Regions from separate parts of the Homo sapiens genome. Here all the other regions are linked to region 4. The links are contacts of gene promoters, found by promoter capture Hi-C in blood cells and fetal thymus (Javierre and others, 2016). All regions are on one chromosome and are shown on one strand. Each heading gives the region's core, a stretch centred on a gene start or on the middle of the fragment in contact. The rest is flanking DNA. Distances are from core to core; before and after follow the strand shown. Region 1 has its middle 51 kb from the start of AKR1E2. Region 2 has its middle 54 kb from the start of AKR1C1. Region 3 has its middle 37 kb from the start of AKR1C1. Region 4 holds the start of CALML5 (calmodulin like 5). Region 5 overlaps AKR1E2 (aldo-keto reductase family 1 member E2).

The links. The method cuts DNA at HindIII sites, captures the fragments that hold promoters and counts their contacts. A CHiCAGO score of 5 or more calls a contact.
Region 1: a contact is called between a fragment that was not itself captured here and the fragment with the promoter of CALML5 in region 4, in 2 of 17 cell types (M0 macrophages and M2 macrophages). The highest score is 6.0, in M0 macrophages.
Region 2: a fragment that was not itself captured here is called in contact with the fragment with the promoter of CALML5 in region 4 in 1 of 17 cell types (M2 macrophages); the score reaches 5.6 in M2 macrophages.
Region 3: a fragment that was not itself captured here is called in contact with the fragment with the promoter of CALML5 in region 4 in 1 of 17 cell types (M1 macrophages); the score reaches 6.2 in M1 macrophages.
Region 5: a contact is called between a fragment that was not itself captured here and the fragment with the promoter of CALML5 in region 4, in 1 of 17 cell types (M1 macrophages). The highest score is 5.2, in M1 macrophages.

The regions. Positions count from the first base shown.
Region 1 is chr10:4,875,769-4,878,468 of GRCh38, forward strand. It overlaps the pseudogene AKR1C6P. Among named protein-coding and RNA genes, the nearest start is that of AKR1E2, 51 kb to the left of the region's middle. The HindIII fragment of the contact is 1,078 bases long and covers 767-1,844 here.
Region 2 is chr10:4,907,998-4,910,697 of GRCh38, forward strand. It overlaps the pseudogene AKR1C6P. Among named protein-coding and RNA genes, the nearest start is that of AKR1C1, 54 kb to the right of the region's middle. The HindIII fragment of the contact is 1,270 bases long and covers 756-2,025 here.
Region 3 is chr10:4,924,654-4,927,353 of GRCh38, forward strand. No RefSeq gene overlaps it. Among named protein-coding and RNA genes, the nearest start is that of AKR1C1, 37 kb to the right of the region's middle. The HindIII fragment of the contact is 1,188 bases long and covers 777-1,964 here.
Region 4 is chr10:5,498,277-5,500,976 of GRCh38, forward strand. CALML5 (calmodulin like 5) reads right to left here and starts at 1,294. Exons shown (of 1, transcript NM_017422.5): 1 at 421-1,294. The coding sequence starts at 1,162. The coding sequence ends at 722. The HindIII fragment of the contact is 4,911 bases long and covers 1-2,369 here.
Region 5 is chr10:4,827,944-4,830,643 of GRCh38, forward strand. The region is part of intron 1 of AKR1E2 (aldo-keto reductase family 1 member E2); the gene reads left to right. Among named protein-coding and RNA genes, the nearest start is that of AKR1E2, 3.1 kb to the left of the region's middle. The HindIII fragment of the contact is 607 bases long and covers 1,087-1,693 here.

The DNA.
Region 1 (2,700 bases), core at 56-2,555, 620 kb before region 4:
GTCTCTATTGAGTTCTGCTCACACTCTTGTCTGGGCAGAGCTATGAGCCTTGGAGAAAAAAAAATGTCTGATATGAAGTCTGAAGAAAAAATGTTTTCCAACAACTTTCCTAAGCAACAAACCCTGCCTTCTGTGGGCTGAAATCAATGGAATTCCCCCACTGTCCTGCTCCCTAGTGTCAACAACGAAACAAGCTACTTACATAGACATTTACAAATGGCATATATTCTTGTTCAAGCCATCTGTGGTTTTCATGTCCTCTGGTGTCAGCTAGAAGTCAAAAACCTGTCAGAAACGTGAGAAGATCAATTTAATATCCTTGAGGCAATTGCTGTTCCTCTTCTCCCCTCTCCACAAACAGACAAATCCATGTAGGACTTTGTGTAGGTTTTATGAGTGAGTTTTCATGGACCAAGGATTCATTCAGTGGCATGTCATGGGAATTTGTCCATTTATAAAGTTGAGATTGGCATGGTTAATCTTCCCTCAGATACTTTTATTGGGGAGCCATCATGATAGCAAAGAAATCCTAGAGAATTTTAAGCCCAAACCTCACGTGATCTAATTCCTTTATTTTACAGCTATAGAAATCAAGGGATGACTTACCCAGCGCCATACTATAGGGGAAAAACCCGGATTAGGACCCTCTCCTGACCTTCTCTTTAGTGTCCTTTCCAACCATCACACTCTCCCTTGCAGCAAGGGGAGACAAAGCAATTAAATATGGTGCTTATATGCTTATATGCATAGAATGTAAAAGGAGATAAGCTTTGCCCAAATATACCTTGAGAGCTTTGCAAAAACTCAGATACCGTGGGGAAATGATGTGCCTCTGTCAATCCCCTGCTGCCACCACCATGCCCTGTACCTGGAAGTTTTCTTTGATTCTCTTCTCATTGAAGCTCTTCACCAGGACCACCACCCCGCGCTGCAGCTGGTAGCACAAGGCAACCTGGGCTGGAGTTCGCCTGGGCTTTTCAGCAATGGCATTGAGTATTGGATCCTCCTGGAGAACTGGGTTTCCTTTTTTCACCCTGAGAGGAGAGGCAGAGGTGCTGCAAGTCTGAGGCTGAATATCCATTTTACTTGCGGGCTGCTTATTTTGGCCAGGGATGCTAATCCTCCAGAACCTTCCTCATTACCTTCTGGCTGTCTCAATATCTGTTTTGCATCTTTTGTTATAACCAAAGAAGGACAAAGGAATGGAAGGTGGCAGTTCTATTTAGTTCTTATAATGTAGGTCTGGGTTAGGTAAAAGGTTTACAGATGAATTTATTCCTGCTGTCTATTTTTAATTTTGCCAGCTGATTGAGAGATTACTTCGGAAGGTACAGTATCTATGATTAAAATAACTTTATAGGCCAGTCACCGTGGCTTACACCTCTAATCCCAGCACTTTGGGAGGCCAAGGTGGGAGGATCACTTGAGCCCAGGAATTCAAGACTGGCTTGGGTAACGTAGTGAGACCCTGTCTCTACAAAAATGAAAATAAACAATTAGCCAGGCATGGTGGTGCACTCCTGTAGTCCCAGCTACTTAGGAGGTCTAGGAGGGAAGATCCTGACTTGAGCCTGGAAGGTCAAGCCTGCAACAAGCTGTGATTGTGCCCCTGCACTCCAGCCTGGATGACAGAATGAGACCCCCACCTAAAAAAAATAAACAAAATAACTTTATGAAGATGATTACCAGTCTTTGTCTGAGTCAGACCCCAAGGCAGAATATGCAGTCATGACAATGTCCTTGGACTTACAGTACTCCAGGAGTTTGCTTTGGTTGAGGTAAGGGTGATATTCCACCTGCAGAATGCCAAGCAGGAGAATTAGGTTACAGAACCACCAACACCAAGCTTACCAGGGACATGCAGTGCTGCATTGCATGGTATCAGACATCTTTTAGAATACCAGCAACACAGGCCAAGCCATGATTGTCATCCACAGCTGTATGCATGAAGCTCCCAAGGGCTTTACTTGGGATGACAGCCCATGGAGGGCATAGCAGTATTGATTAAATAATTAACTCAGTGCTCTTAGATGGCAGGTTGTGCACAAGGCCAAAAGAGAATTTCAGTCTTCCAGACTGAAAACCATGGTGACATCTTTGGTTCTTGCTCATTTATTGTTGACGTATAGCAAGCAGCAATTTCTGCCTTTCTTAGTTATTTAATCTCAGTATTCTTTATTTTTAAGGAGTATTCCCATTTTGTTCATTGCTGCAACCCCTGATAGCCAATAAATCATCCCTCAACATTTTTTGGCTTTATGAATGTATAATTGTTATATGAAAACATGCACACACTTAATGGATACATCTGGATGGATTTGGGCATGTGCATATACCTGTGATACCATCACTGCAAACGATGCATTAAACATGCCCATCACCTCCAAACATTTTCTTATGTCCTTTTGTGTGTGGTTTTGGTTTTAGTTTTTGGATTTTTTTTTTTTTGCAAGAACACTTGACATGAGATCAACTATCTTAAACATATTTTAAAGTATGCATACTGTTAATAACAGGTATAAGGGGTTAATATCTAAACTATGTAAAAATCTACAATGCAATAGCAAAAAAACAAACAAATAACCCAGTTGAAAAATGGGGGAAAAAAAACTTGCATAAGCATTTCTCCAAAGAAGTCATCACTCCAATTTGAAACAGTTTTTCATCAGGTTATTCCTTGGCTGCAGGAATGAGAATGTT
Region 2 (2,700 bases), core at 141-2,640, 590 kb before region 4:
AGCCTCTACCTGCTAGATTATCTTGACAAACTCTGATCTAATAATAAACAATAAAACTCCAGTCCCCCACACAGTGGGCTCTGCGGGAATTACTCTTTCTCCATTGCAATTCTCCCGTCTTGATAAATAGACTCTGTCTAGGGAGTGGGCAAGGTTAACCCACTGGGCAATTACAGGTATATAAAATTCTTAATTTCACCACAAACTGTTTAAGAAAACTTGATTTTTCAAAATTTTAATCAATGTGTAAATATTCAGAAAAAACTACTTTCTGTGTTTTAATTGGTAGGATACAGTCAATCAACTTGGTGTAAAACTAAGCAAAATTAATTGTAGATATTATTTCTCTCCAGGCACAAAAACGTGTTTTGAACCTACTCTAACCAACTGTCAAAAGGCTGTGTTAAGTGATTCTCTGACAAGGTAAGATCTAATGCTTGGTGTCTTTTTGAAGTTTTTCAAAATTGCCTCCAATATCAACCTTCCCTTCCCTTTCAGCATTCTGTTCCCTATCTTTCAGCTCATCTTTCTAGTTTTCCTATAGCAAGAAAACGTGTTCAGAGAGCAAGATAATTATATGTATTGATTCTATATGAGAAATATCACCTGTTCTGTCATTAGGGGCTTTAAATATGCCTACCTTATTAAAGAGCTACTTCTCTAGACACAACTGTGACTGAAGAATTAATTCACTCAAGATCCAATATTACCCACAGCGACTCCTTCAATCTCAACCTCCTACTGTGTCAAAACCAAGCTTCCTTCATGAACACTTACCTATACCAAGAGTGCAGACTTTCTTTTCCCTATAGTAATTCAAACTGGGTATTGTGTTGCTTTTCCCTACCACTTTTCTCTTCTGGGACTACTTATATTTACTGTAGTGCATCTGTCTAATTTCAAATATTAAAGAGGCAGGTTCTGTAGTGACAAAGGACTATAGGGAGTTGGTTTTATCTAAACTTTAAAGTAGTGGTTTTCAAAGTTTGGTACCAGAACCTATGGGGTCCCTAGAATCCTTCTGGGGGCATGATGTAAAAATTATTCTTATGATAATACTAAGAACCTATTTCTTTTTTACTCTCATTCTTTTGTGAACGTACAGTGGAGTTTCCCAGAGGCTTATGTGGTATTGATAGATGCAGGACGCAGATAAGGTGGGGGTCGAGGGAGTCCCCAGAGAATCTCCGACCTACTCCGCAAGTGTTTACATCAGATGCTTTCGTGCAGATGAGGGAACCTGCCCAGGGTGTTGTCTGCACATGCCCACAATGGACTGGGGACCCGCCTGTGCACTGGGAGAATAAGGTGGAGCCACAGGAAGTTCATGGCCTGTGCAGCAGGAGGAGCCTGGCCTCTTCTGGTCCTGTGTGTTGGCCTGGTACTCAATCTGTGAGGTGGTAGCATGTTAGCAGGAGTCCCTCTCAATTTGCTGACAGCTTTTTTTTTCTCCTTTTTCCTATTTGCCCATACATTCTGCTCTCTTCACCCTTCAATGTGTCCACATGCCTCATTTATCCTGGTCATGACACAAGAACCGGGATTTAGCTGAACTAAGAAGCAAAAATTCTGCATCATTTTGGTGGCGTGTACAGGGACATGAGGAAGGGTGAGTAAGATGTGAACCAAAAAAATCATTTTCCCTTTTGTTTCTAAGCCTTTTTGTACTCGGACTTCTTATGAGGATAGAGGAAACTGTGTACCACCCTACCTCAATGGCCACAGGTGCTCCCTGCCCCCCTTCGCTCCTGACTGGGATGCATGGCCATAACTGCCACAGGTGCGTGTGGTGTCTAACGGCCATGCTGGGCAGAAATGAGCCACAGCCACTGCCTGGGCCCCAAAGTGGCCTCAGGGACCCAGGCCCCATGTGGCAAGCTGGCCAGTGTTCCCTGCAATGCATCTACGGAGTCTTCCCCACCCCTGGCCAAGGGGTCCAGCTCCATCAGACAGTAATTAAATTTCTCTCTCTGTTGTAGGAACCATTTGCATAATTAAAAAACATCTTCCCACCCCTGCACTTTAAGCTTTTTTTCTTTTCTCCACCAGGTCAGGAGTTAACTTTTAAGTGAGACCTTTTTTCCCCCTTTTAGAAAACGTTTTACTAGGCCAGGGCCCCAGCTGTCACTGTTTATATTCTCTGTAAAGTTTGAATTATAAAAAAGGATTTGTAAGGTTGGTCTTAAGCTGCAGCCAATCTGGTGTGCTCTGCATGTCTTTCTGTATGGTCAACAGCAAACTTTGCTGCAGGCCTCCATATTGTTTTACATCCTTGGAATTGTGACCTGTAACCACATGGTAGTGCTTTATTTTAGCTTCTGCCATTTTGCAATGGCAGCCTACGTTCAATCCTGGCTTAGGGAATGAGTCTTTTCTGGTTTGATATCTGTGTGACTTTTGCCATTTGTTGATTGTCTTCCATTCTACAAACTGCCTTGGATTTTCCTTTTCCTGAGCCTTTAGTAAAGTTTGAAAGCCAGAAATATTGGCCTCTTGGCACAGCTAAAGTGGGGTAACAGGGATATAAAGGGTTTTCTTAAAGAGCGCTCAGCTTAATTAAAAGTGAATGTCCAAGTTACAGGTATATTTAAAAGGCCTTTATGTTTTTTCTTCTTGGCTCTTGCTTTCCTGGAAAAAGGTTTTTTTCTCATTTGACTGAATTATTTTTCTCCATTTTGCCTTGCCACTCATAATATACTC
Region 3 (2,700 bases), core at 121-2,620, 570 kb before region 4:
GGCACACACACACACAGGCACACATACACACAGGTGCACACACACACAGGTGCACACAAACACATATACACACAGGCACACACACACACAGGCACACATACACACAGGTGCACACACACACAGGTGCACACACATACACACACAGGCACACACACAGACACTCTCATCTTCTCCAGCTCTTCTTCTTCTGTGTATTGATGTTATCTTCAGGGTGGGTGGAGGCTGCTGAAGCAATTTTTGAACTCACACTGCAGCAGGACAATAGCTACTTGCAGAAGAAAGGCCACCTTATTTTAAAAATTTCTTCCTAGAAGTGAGGAATCCTTCCTAGAAGCCCCTAGCATAGTCCCTCTTATGTGGCATTGGCTAGGACTGGGTCACAGCAGCTCTCTTCCCACTGCAACCACATGCCAAGGGCAAGGAAATTAACATGAGTGACCTAAACAGACCTTTTGCAGTAAATCACATGTTGATGAGATTACAATCCTGACCCCTAAAACCATAATATGAAATTGATGTTTTTCACAAAAGTTAGACATTTCCAATATTGCCTATATTTCCAAATTGCTTTGCAAAGTTTTAAAACAACTCAAAATAAATTAAAGTTTTAAATGTAAGAACTGAAACTATAAACTGCTATCAGAAAATGTAAGGAAAATTCTAAATTCTTTGGGGAAAAAGTAATAACTAAATTTAGGGAAATAATTCAAGAGTATGACCTCAAGAACACAAACAAGAGAATAAAAACAGACATATATGGCTTAATAAAACAAATAAGCTTCTGTAAATCAAAAGAAATAATCAAAAGGGTGAACAGACAACCTACAAAATGGAAGAAAATATTTACAAACTGTAAATCCAATAGAAAACTCATATCAAAAATTTATGGCCAGGCGTGGTGGCTCATGTCTGTAATCCCAGCACTTTGGGAGGCTGATGTTTGTGGATCACCTGAGGTCAGGAGTTCAAGACCAACCTGGTCAACATGGCGAGATCCCATCACTACTAAAAATACAAAAATTAGCCAGGGGGGTGGCTCATGGCTATAATCCCAGGTACTTGGCAGGCTGAGGCACGAGAATTGCTTGTACCTGGGAGGTGCAGGCTGCAGTGAGCTGAGATTGTGCCACTGCACTCCAGCCTGGGCGACAGAGCAAGACTCTGTCTCAAAAAGAAAAAAAAAATTCTAAGAAACTCAACAACAACAACAACCCAAATAACCTCTGTTAAACTGGGTGAAGAGCAGAGGTTTCCCAGCTTCATGCTTCGGCATACCTCTAGGAACTTGATATCTGCCCGCCGAAACTTCTTCCTCCTGCTGGTGCTTGTGTCTGCCATTGTGTAACCTGTAAGCGGGCCTTCTACTTGGCTAAGCAGGAAGATTAGATGGCTGTGCCTTCCACAGGTCAGATCAATGTCTTATTACACAGATAGCTTCTCTCAGTTAACAGGGATCCAATATATACACATCTGTATCAGCCATAGCCAGTTCTTTCCCATAGAACCATCTACTGGCCTGGAACTTGAATCACTCAACACAAAAAGACATCTGCTGATGCAAGCCCACTGCACTAGGGAATAAGATAAACTCCCTGATAAGCTCGACATCCAAAAAAAGCAAATGCAAAACATAACAGGGTAAAATAGTTTATGCAATTGAGAAAAAAACAGGAAACAACTCTGAAAGTATGAAAAAACAGACTGTTTAACACCCTCAAAGGATCACACATTAACTCTCCAGCAATAGATCCTAACTTAAATGAAATTTTGAAATACCAGATAAATAATTCAAAATATTGAGTTATAGAAACTCAATGAGACCAAACAGAAAGCTGAAAACTAACACATAGAAATCAGAAAAAAACAATTCAGAATATGGAAGAATATATTGACATCATTTAAAAAAGAATCAGAACTTCTGGAAATAAAAAAATTCATTGAAGGAATTGTGAAATACAGTTGAAAGCTTTAACAATAGGCTAGACCAAGAGGAAGAAAGAATTTTAGAGCTGGAAGACAAGTCTTTGAAATTAACTCAATCAGACATTAATATAGAAAAATTAATTTTAAAAAATCCACAAAGTCTTTGAGAAATAGGGAATTTTATGAAGTGACCATCCCTCAGAAATGTAAGTATTCCAGAGTGAGAAGAAAAAGAACTAAAAAGTATGGAAAACGCTTCGGAGGATATACTTCAGAAAACCTTCCCTGGTATTGGGAAACATTTAGACATTCAGATGCAAGAAGATCACAGAATTCTTGGAAAATACATTTCAAGATGAACCTCACCACAGCATATAGTCATCAGACTATTTGAAGTCAACATAAAGAAAAAAATTCTAAGAGTTGCAAGAGAGAAACACTTAATCACCTGTAAAGGAAATCCCATCAGACTAAAATTGAATTCTCAGCAGAAACCCTACGGGCCAGAATATACTTCAGGCCTATATTCATCCTCCTTAAAGAACAAAAGGCAGCCAAGTATTTTATATGCTGCTAAGCTAAACTTCCAAAATGATACAGGAATATTCTTTTCCAGACAAACAATTACTAAGGGAATTCATTACCATTAGCTCAATCCTAGAAGAAATGCTGAAAGAAATTCTAAACATGGAAATTAGGGGACAATACACATCATCATAAAAGGGCACATTAGTACAAATCTCACAGATCCTACAAAGTAATTACATAATTGAAACT
Region 4 (2,700 bases), core at 44-2,543:
GACTTACACACAGATGCACACATACAGAGACACGCATACAGACACACAGACACACACACAGATGCACACACAGACGTACACGTATATTATTTGCAGCCGAAGAGAGGCAGGCTGCGTGCAGAGGCTGGCAGCTGGGCTCCGTCTGTCCATGCGAGGCGCCCGCTCCTGTTTGTGCGGGACACGTGCCCAGGTCCTCACCAGCAGCTCAGGCAGAACCTGGAGCCACAGACACCGCCCAGCACCATCCTCACACATCCTCTGCCCACCTGCCCTCTGCTCCGCGTCAGGGGAGGCAGGAGCTGCCCCTGGGGCCTGCTCCAGGCAGTTCTGCCACCGCAGGTGAGAGGGGTGGGCTGGAAGGAACCCTGGAAGCAGGTGGGGGCCCTCGGAGGCAGCCGCCCCACAAACACCAAGCACACATGGAACTCGGCAGTCCTTTATTTAGATCAATGCGGGGCTGAGGGGCCCTCATTCCACTGCAGGGCAAAGGGGGACCAGGCCCAAGGAGGCCTCCTTCTGCCCAAGGTCTGGAGGCAGAGAGGGGCTCGCAGGCGGCCCGAGGGCGCCGCATCCAGGCCCCGGAGCGCAAAGCCTTCCTCCCAGGGGGAGGCAGTTTCCCATCCACCGACCAGGTTTCCCCGGAGAGTCCCAGCACAAAAGCAGCAGCGGGCGGTGGCCCTGAAGGCTCAGAGCGCAGCCAGGGGGACACAGGCGGGGAGCCTCACTCCTGGGCGAGCATCCTCGCGAACTCCTCGTAGTTCACCCGCCCGTCCTGGTCCACGTCGGCCTCGCGGATCATGGCGTCCAGCTCCTCCTGCGGCAGCGGCTGCCCCAGCCCCGCCATGGCCCGCCTGAGCTCGTCCACGGTGATGTGGCCGTCGCCATCCTGGTCGAAGGCGCGGAAGGCGACCTGCAGGTCCTCCAGGCCGGCCCTGGCCTTCTTCGCCGCCGTCAGGAACTCCTGGAAGCTGATTTCGCCGTCGCCGTCGCTGTCAACCTCGGAGATGAGTTTCCTTAGCTGGGCCTCCGAGAGGTTCTTGCCCGTGGCCTTCAGCGCCGCGCCCAGCTCCTGGGCATTGATGGTGCCGTTTCCATCCGTGTCAACCGCGGAGAAAGCCTTTTTGTACTGGGCCTCCTCCTCAGGAGTCAGCTCACCGGCCATGCCTGCGTCTCCTGCACCTCGCGGAGCCTCCGAGCTGCTGCCCACCGGCCCTCAACCTGCTGCTCTCAGAGCTCGTGGTCCAGAGTGCAGGCAGCCGCAGGGATCCGGGCAGCGTCTGTCCCAGACAGTTCTGCCTTGGCATGGGAACCCCCTCCTTTTCTGCAATCGGAACAAAGGGAGGAGGGAGGCTCCCCACCCTCCAAATGCCCTGGGGTGAGAGCCTCCTCCCAGGGAGGGCCAGATCAGCTGCAGACAGGAAATGCAGGAATGGGAGTTGGGAGAGCTGTCAGGTGCCAGGTGGGAACTGCCATGGGGTCGGGGTATCGGATGGCTAGCCTGCCAACCCCGCCTGGCCTTGATAGCAACCACCTCCCTCCAGGAACATTCTGCCCAAGGGATAGTTTCCCCTGCAGCTGATTCTCGGAGATCCTGACCAAGCCAAGGGGTTCAAGACAGCTTCTGCAACTTCACAAAGACTGAGACTGGAGGGGGAGGTGGCTTGAAGAGGGCTCCCTCAAGGGCACAGCAGGCCCCAGTGTTTGGTGTTTCCGTACCCCTCTCTCCAGTGCTACTGCCTAGCTCTTGCCCTGAGGCTGGGGCTGGTGGAAGGGAAGTGGGTGGTAGTGTTGATTCTGCCAGGGCACAACTGTGGGTATCATGAGATTCCCAGGCCAGGGTCTAGAGACAGAGGATGGGGCTCACTGCCTATAACTTCAAGGAAGCAAGGGACCAGGGCTGCCTTCAGAGCCATAGCTGGTGCTGAGATGGTGTTTATCAAGTGAACATGTGACGTGCAGTTTCAGAGGAGAGGGAAAGACTTTTTGTCTCCCCAGAATACTCCCTTCTAGCTCAGGGATTCCTACAATTCAATTCCATCGCCAAGTCCAAGGTTCCCTGTGCAGACACCCTGGGAGCTCAGTGGCAGGCGTTCCATTCACAGGGCGTCAAACAGTTACAGCTGGAGTTTTGCTGCAGCGAGACACGGGGGACCTCAGTGCCCAGCATACCCCAAAGGTGCAGGCAGAGGTGCAGGAGGATGCAGAACAGGTGGCTGCCATCAAACTTGGCCCTCCTTGTGGTTTTACTAAGCATCAGCCCTAAGCACAGAGACCCATCTGGGAGCCTACTGGGGTCCTCAATCTGATCTGTTCTCTGGAAGGAAACCCCCAGGGCCACTTGCCTTGACCAACTTTTAGAGCAACAGCTAAGCTTTCGGGGGACCATCCCCAAGTCCTTCCACTGATGTGATCTACAGTTGTGAGGGGACATTTGCCTTGGAGTCCCCAAAATGCCTTTCCCAAGCAAGTCCCCTCTGATCTCCATAGATTCCCATTCTTCTCCCCAGCCCCTGCCCGTACACAGGGAACAAACTCCTTTATTCCCCTGGGAAAGTTTATACATTCCACCTCCCTCCTGTTCAGCCCATCAAATAGACCAAGTGCCCTCTCCTTCCCTAAAGTGCAGCCAGACAAACACCTCCCAGCCCCTTGGTGCTGCACACATTCTCCAAGGGAAGCCGGAGGCTGGGGTGCCCAACC
Region 5 (2,700 bases), core at 140-2,639, 670 kb before region 4:
CTTAACAGGTCAAAATATTCTATTTATTTTTCTTGGACTGCAGGTGCATCAAATTGGATTAATCATAATCACTCATCACTGGTCTATGCAAAGGCTTATTTTTACTCGTCTATTTTTAATAGTGAATAAACATCACAGACCTATCCGTTATCTGTTGCCCCAGAAATGCTGCATCAATGGCCAAACACCAGACCTCAGTGGTGTACAGCAGCAAGTGTATTCCTCCCACACGGGAGGTCAGGAGAGCAGCTCTGTGGACCTTGGCTGGGCTCAGTTGGGATGGTTGGGGCTACTCCACTTGGCTCCGCACATCTCCTGTCCTCGTGCGGTTAGTTAGGGAGTGTTCTCAAGATGATGGCTGAAGCACAAGAGAGCAAGGGGAGCGGTGAGATGTCTGGAGACCTCAGCCTGGGCTCTTCATTATTAGGGGCCACTTGATCCATCTGTGTGCCTGATCGGTGCTGTCTTAATTACTACAGTTCCTTGATAAGCGCCCATACCTAGTAGGGCAGGTCACCTCTCCCTGCTGTTGTAGATTTACAGTGTACAATTTGATGAGTTTTGACAGATGCATGTACCTGGGTCCTGGCTTTTTATTTTGGCACCTTACTCTCCACTGTAAGTTTTAGAACTAGCTTAGAAGGTTCCATGAGAAACTTTATTGGGGTTTTGATTGGAACTACATTAAATCTGTAGACCAGCTTGGAGATAATTGACACCTTTGTAATGTTAAATCTTAACTTTTCTACAAGCATGGTATTCTTCTCTGTTAATAAATTGTCCTGAATATGGTTCATTTCTAACATCTTTTCATATGGTTGTATAGTTTTTCCTGAAGAGAATATATGTCTTTTGTTGGAATTATTATTGGGTTCTTGATAGTGTGTTATACTACTGGAAATTATATTTCTCTGAAGTTACATTTTCTACTTGTTTCACCTGCTATATTCATTACACTTCCAGCCACTTTACTAAACTGTACTGTTATTTCTGTTAATTTGTGTTACATTTGTTTGGATTTTCTACACAAATGATCATATCATCAGCAAATAATGGTAGTTTACTTTCCTTTTTTTCCACTCTTTAAGCTTAAAATTGCTTCTTCTTAGTTGTTCAGGTGCTTCTGGAAAGCACCTCCAGCACAGTGGCCATTCTTGTTTTGTACCTGATTTTAAAGGATGTAAGATGGATATTTTTTAATATTGATACTCTTTATCAGATTAATTCTTTTCCCCGACTTACTGGGAGTTTAGATTTTGAATCTAAACTGGTATTGAATCTTAACAAATATTGATTGAGTTGACTTTTGTTTTTGTACTTTAATCTGTTAATATTGATGAATTACAGATTTTCTAATATCAAACCATCCTTAGATATCTGAGATACACTCAACATGGGTGTGGTATATTATCTTTTCATAAATATTGTTGCATCCAATTTGCTTTTATTTTACTTATGAATTTTGCAACGGTATTCATGAATAAGATGAATGTGTGACTTTTAATATTTTTGTCTGATTTTGATTCAGGGTTATGCTAGTTTTGTAGAATGAGTTGAGATAAGTCCGTCTTTTTCTGTTGTTTGAAAGTCTGTGTTAAACTGAGATGATTTTTTTCTTGAAAATTTTATGAAACTGGTGGTTTTCTCTTTTTTTTGAATTCCTTGCATTCTTTAATAATTATGTAACTATTCAAGCTTTATTCTTGGGTTAAATTTTTCTAGGAATTTTCCCATTTTATCTCATTTTTCCAAGTTATTGACATATAGTTATTGGTAATATTTTCTTTTAAGTCCATTTTATCTGCATGTTTTACTGTCCATTCGTGTCAGTTTTTTAAAAAGTTGGCCTCTTCATCAACCTAGCCAGAAGTCTGTTTATTTTACTGAAGTTTTTCAAAGAACTGACTTCTGGTTTTGTTGATCTTCTCTGTTACATCTTTGTTTTCTATTTTATTGATGTTATTCTTAATCATATTTTTATCTTTCCATCCAATTTCTTGGGTTCTTTTTCTAACTTAAGATGGATACTTGGTTCATTAGCTTTCAACCACTCTGAATCTGTTGCCTATAAAATGAAGATAATTATGCTGCTCTAACTCCTAGGGTTACCGTGAAGCTCCAGTGAGAAAGTGGTTTGTGAACTATAAAGCCCTTGTCAGTCTTCAGTTTAATGAGACTGCAAACCCGCCCACCCCCATAGTCTTCCCTAGTTCTAGTCCCTTCCCTTGCCTGAGCTTCATTTAGAGTGACTGTTCTCTTTTCTGAACTACCTTATTGCTTGTAGCATTATACATTCATTTAGGTTTTGTTATATACTTCTTTTTGTATGGATACCTTCGTGTGAGTCTACACCTCAGCCTTTATTATTGGACGCTGTGGTATCTGAGTATACAGGATAAATCTTAAGCCTCTTTGCATCTCAGTTATTATTCATTCTGTACTTTTTTATTGCTTTGATCATTCAGGAAGCATACCATCTAGCTCAGTTTTCTGCAGACACTAAAAATAACCTATAGTTTTTTTTTCCCAAAATATGTAAAGGAGTTGGAACTTAGATTATTCATAAATTCCTTCATAACTGATATTGCCTGTTTTTAGACTGATTATACTAGTACCAAATTAGTGACTTAATTTTTTATGTATTATGTTGTCCACATGCTTGGGTGAAAGGGGAGATTTGTGTTGGATTCCTCTGACTGT